Regions from separate parts of the Homo sapiens genome. Here region 2 is linked to region 1. The links are contacts of gene promoters, found by promoter capture Hi-C in human tissues and cell types (Jung and others, 2019). All regions are on one chromosome and are shown on one strand. The core of a region is centred on a gene start or on the middle of the fragment in contact, and the rest is flanking DNA. Distances in the headings are between cores, read along the strand shown. Region 1 holds the start of GGT6 (gamma-glutamyltransferase 6). Region 2 overlaps ANKFY1 (ankyrin repeat and FYVE domain containing 1).

The links. The method cuts DNA at HindIII sites, captures the fragments that hold promoters and counts their contacts. A contact is called where the count stands out against the background at its distance.
Region 2: a fragment that was not itself captured here is called in contact with the fragment with the promoter of GGT6 in region 1 in 1 of the 25 tissues and cell types used here (dorsolateral prefrontal cortex).

Annotation. Positions count from the first base shown.
Region 1 is chr17:4,559,196-4,561,895 of GRCh38, forward strand. It overlaps GGT6 (gamma-glutamyltransferase 6), which reads right to left and starts at 1,382. Exons shown (of 4, transcript NM_001288702.2): 1 at 1,187-1,382; 2 at 363-565; 3 at 148-261. The coding sequence starts at 1,326. The HindIII fragment of the contact is 6,687 bases long and covers 858-2,700 here.
Region 2 is chr17:4,228,706-4,231,405 of GRCh38, forward strand. The region is part of intron 3 of ANKFY1 (ankyrin repeat and FYVE domain containing 1); the gene reads right to left. Among named protein-coding and RNA genes, the nearest start is that of ANKFY1, 34 kb to the right of the region's middle. The HindIII fragment of the contact is 6,569 bases long and covers 1-2,700 here.

The sequences.
Region 1 (2,700 bases), core at 132-2,631:
GGGTCATAGCCTGGGGTTGGACTGCTGCCCAAACCCTAAGTCCTGCTCACTTAGCAGTCTTGAGGTCAGTGCTACTGACTCCCTAAGTTCCAGGTCACTGATCAGGCTGTGGGTTGGGGTTGCAGTCTGGGGTCAGGGGTCACTGACCTAGCCCCGTGGCATGAGGATGCACCACTGCCAGGCACAATGCAGCTCCAACTCCAGCATCCACGACGTTGCCCCCGGCAACAAGCAGCTCTCGGCCTAGGTGGGAGCATGTGGCTGCAGCAAGGAAGGCACTGTCATGCAGCAAGGAGGGGGGCTAGGCTGGGCTGGTGACCCCTGACCCTCCCCTCCCCAAGCCGCCCCCAGCACTGACTGACCTGCAGGGCTGATGATGGCACCGTGGTGGTATACGCCAGGGCCGTGGGAGTGTCCGCCGGGTGGAGGGGCCACAGAGCCCAAGCTTCCTGTCGACCTGCCCTGATTCTGGAGCTGCCTCACAGCCAGGGAGCAGCCAACAGCCAGCAGCAGCAGGGCTGCCACTACACGGGCCCAGGTTCCGGGCAGCCCGCCAGCCTTGTTCCTGCAGAGGGGGGGTGTCCTGAGCCACGGCTGGGACAGAGGGATGCCCAAGGACCCCAAGAGACCCCAGGGAATATTTCCCAAAAGGTTTGATTTAGCAAGAGGAGCACAAGTCAGCCAAGGAGAAAGGGCTTCTTGGCAGCGGGTGCATCTTGGGCAGACATGGGGATGGGAAAGCATCTGGGGAAACTGAGCCTAGCTAGGGAGGGAGCCTCTGGAGGGGAGATTGGTGGGGCAGAGTCCACTCAGGTGGGAGGGAGGCCCAGTGGGGTGTGGCAGGCAGGAGAGAAGGGGCTGGGGAGCAGGCCCAGCCAGGCGTAGTCAGGCCCCAACCTGCCCAGCAGGTGCCTCCTGCACCAGGACTTGGGGGCTGGGGACCTTTGACAAAGCAGCAGATGGGACAGAGGCTGGCTTGGTACAAATGTCCCTCCAGATGCACAGACTTTTGATTGGGTCAGGCCAAGTCTCGGGCTACAGCCTGGGTTTTCCCCCAAATTGACCGTACAGTGCCTGGAGCTAAACCCAGCGGGGAGTCGCCTGGTCCCCCTGAGGGGCTCCAGAGAGAGGGACTTGCCAACCTCAAGCCTGGGGAGCCTGGTGCCCAGACCCCTCCCTTACTTACCTGGAAGAGTCCTGGTGCCTCCGGGGGTTTAGAACCAGCGCCTCTGATGTCTCCTCCTCCTCCACTTCCTCCTCCGACTCCAAGCTTGGCTCCCAGGGCAGCAGCTTCTGATAGACCACGGGCTCTTCTGCCCGCTCCATGGCCCCCCAGTGCTCGCCCCAGCCCTCCTGCCTGCCAGCCTTTCCGGCTGTGTCTCAGAGGCCCTGCCCAAGCCTGGCAGGTGGGAGGTGGCAGCGACCTTGGGGAAGGGTGGGGGTGGAATCCAGAACAGGTCTGGGCAGGGCACGGGGCCAAGGAGGCTGCATGTGAGCCTGCCCCATTAGGACACAAGGCCCGAGGAGCTCTCGCGACAGGGTTCCCGGGGTGACTGCCTGTAAGGGGCCACAGCTCAGTGAGGTCGAGAAGGAGTTCAGCCTTAATGCCACAACCTTGATACTCAGGGCACCTGCTGGGCTCCTCCCCTTGGGGGATGTAGCCCATGGATCCCACCCACCTGGGACTCTAGGGACTGTGGACTTGAATTAGAGCTACGGTTTCACGGTGGCTTGGGTCAGAGCTCCCACGTGCTTGAGTCTGCACGTGACTAGGTTCTGGCGTAGGGGTGTCTGGTCTCTGGCCGGGGTCAAGGCTCAGCCTGTGGCTACTCTGGGTCTGGGTTTCTTTGAGGAGCAACTTGGTTCGTAACTCCCTGTGCGTGTTTTGCGACTCTTGTCCAGAAGGTAGCGCCACAGCCTGGAAACCAACATTTCTAAATTCATTCTGGGATTCCCATCAAGGACTTGTTGCAAAACAGTGCTGTTTGTAACAGTCCCAAATTGGAAAGTGCCCAAACATCCATTATCGTTAGAATGAATGATGTAAGTCACAATGGACCACTCTGCAGCAAAGAGAGTGAGTGATCTACAATTATATGCAATAATATACACAGGTCTGACAAGCATAAGGACGAGGGAAAGCAGCCAGGCAGGAGACAGCGCACGCTATATGCTTTCATTTACACAAAGTACACAAACAGGCAACAACAAAAGAGCAACAACAGTCTGCCCTTAGAAGTCAGATAGTGACTGGAGGAGGTACCAGGGGGTTTCTGGAATGCTGGAGATGTCCTTTCTTTCCTTCCTTTCTTTCCTTTCCTTTTTCCTTTACCTTTCTTTTCTTTCTCTTCTTTCTTTCTTGACAGAGTTTTCATTCTTGTTGCCCAGGCTGGAGTGCAATGGTGCAATCTCAGCTCACTGCAACTTCCACCTCCTGGGTTCAAGCAATTCTTCTGCCTCAGCCTCCCGAGTAGCTGGGATTACAGGCACATGCCACCACGCCTGGCTAATTTTTTGTATTTTTAGTAGAGACAGGGTTTCACCATGTTGGCCAGCCTGGTCTTGAACTCTTGACCTCAGGTGATCCGCCCGCCTCAGCCTCCCAAAAGTACTAGGATTACGGGTGTGAGCCACCGCGCCCGGCCGAGATGTTGTTTCTTAATCTGAGTGTTGGTGACACGAGTGCCCTGGGTGTGAAAA
Region 2 (2,700 bases), core at 102-2,601, 330 kb before region 1:
CACACCCAGCAAGGATAGAAATGTTTATGTTGATTGTGGCAGTGGCTTCACAGGTGTATTCGTATGTCAAAACTTATCCAATTGCACACTTTTAATGTGGGCAGTTTACTGTACTTCCATTACACCTCAATTTGGAGGAAAAAGAAACCAAACTGACAGGCAGCACGGCACTGTGGTTAATGGCACGAATTCTGCAGCCAAACTACCTAGGGTTCAAATCCCGGCTCCAATCCTTGCTAACTGTGTGGAGTTAATACATAATAAAGCACTCAAAACACCACCACCACATAGTAACTGCTATGTAAAAACTTGCTATTATTACAATAGACTATTTAGAAATTGATCACAATGAAAACAGTACCTACCAAAATATTTGCAATGTAGTCAGATTCATACTATAAAAAAAAGTCATAGTCTTAACCTTATTAGAAAATGAGGCCAGGCATGGTGGCTCACACCTGTGATCCCAGCACTTTGGGGGGCCGCAGTGGGTGGATCACCTGAGGTCAGGAGTTCAAGACCGGCATGGCCAACGTGGCAAAACCCCATCTCTACTAAAAATACAAAAATTAGCCAGGCGTGGTGGCGGGCACCTGTAATCCCAGCTACTCAGGAGGCTGAAGCAGGAGAATCACTTGAGCCCAGGAGGTGGAGGTTGCAGTGAGCTGAGATCACACCACTGCACTCCAGCCTGGGTGACAGAGTGAGGCTCTGTCTCAAAAAAAAAAAAGAAAATGAGATAAAAGATAGTAATTCAACTCAAAAAGAAAAAATAATTCAAAGGAATTTCAAAGAAAGATTTAATACAGATAAAAAGAAATTATTGAATTGGCTAAATATAAATAAAAATTAAAAGAACAATGAACCTAAACCAAATCTGCAATAAGCCAACACAAACACAAACTTAACATAACCAAAGATTGGTGAGAAAAACCCAAAAGCAGTATGAGGATTAAGTAAAGAATATAACCGCAGATAAAATAGATTATTTTGAGCTCTGAGAGAATCTTTGGGCATGGGACTCAGCTGCTGGCAGGAGGCCACAAGGCTGTTTGAGTGTCCTCATGACATGGCCGCTAACGTTCCCCCAAAATGAGCAATCCAAAAGAGAGAGCTAGGAAGAAGCCACAGTGCCTTCGATGAAGCCATCTCTCAAGTCACATGCTGCCACTTCTACCACACTCCATTCATTAGAGGTGAATCAGCCTATACTGAAGAGGAGAATTTGAATCCACCTTTGCAGGGAGAAATAGCAAAGAATTTGTGAGCATATTCTTTTTTACTCCTTTTTGTGAGCATATTCTAAACTTCCCGTGGATGTCATCGAAGGAACACAGTATGATTTAATACTGAAACTGAACAGCCTTAACCTAGTAGTTCACACAGTAGCCAACAGATGTTGAATATTGCTGTGCTTCTCTTAAAAATTTAAATAGCACACAGCTCCCCGAGTACACAGTTTGGGAAACTATGCCCTTTCCACTGCAGAGTGCAAGCTTTCCAGATGGTGCTTCAGGGGATAGCTTTCCCAACCAGAGTGAAAAGGAATAAAGGAGGATGTTTTCTGCTGTTTGGAATGGCTTGACACTATCCAGGACACATTCCAGGAGAGCTGAATGACTCATACCCTGAGCCCTTATGCCAAGGAACTGTAAGATCTTTGCTTGAGAAAGTATGCAACAAACTCTAGCTTCAAAACAGCCATTCTAATCCATTGGAACCTCTCATCGTGTCAGCTGCTACTGGTAAAGTGCTACAGAGAGGCCATAAACAGATCATTTTGCTAGAAGCAAATTGCTTTACTTCACCAAGAAGTAAATATAATACTTTCCTTGTGGACTCAGATTTGTTATGCTTTGCTGAGCTAACAGTCATATTCTTTCTCTTCCCACTTGGTCAATCAGTATCTTTATAAACTTTTATCTTTTATTCTTTTTTATTAGGGTTTAACAGACAAAAATTATATAGAGTTAATGTATGACATGTTTTGATATATGTATGCACTATGAAATGGTTATAAGCTAATTAACATATCACTTCATATATTTAAAGATACCTTAGTAAGAAATAAAAAAGCAAATTTCTACTTTGTTTACATTTTCAGATACTTTCATACTTTGAGAAAAGCTGCAGAGCATCCCCATATGCCCTTTACTCATCTTCCCCTATTATTAATACAGCTTATATAACCATAGTACAATGATCAAAATTAGGTAACTACGTAATACATACAATACCAATACCATTAACTAATTATAGGCCCTATTTTGCCAATTTTACCAGTAATACCCTTTTTATGGCCAGAATCCAACTGAGGATTCTACACTGCATTCAGTGTTAGTCTCACCCAATCTGTAATACTTCCTAAACCATTCTTGTTTTTCATAACCTTGACATGTTTGAGAAACACTCTGGCTGATTATTTTGAGAAATGTCCCTCAATTTGGGTCTGATGTTTTCTCATGAGTAGATTGAGGTTATGCATTAATGGCAAAAATCCTATACAAGAGCCAGGCAGAGTGGCTCATGCCTGAAATTCCAACACTTTGGGTAGCCAAGGCAGGAGGATCATCTGAGCCCAGGAGTTTGAGACCAGCCTTGGCAACACAGCAAGAGCCCATCTCTATTAAACAATTAGCCAGGGATGGTGGTGAACACCTGTACTCCCAGCTACTTGAGAGGCTGAGGTGGGAGGATCTC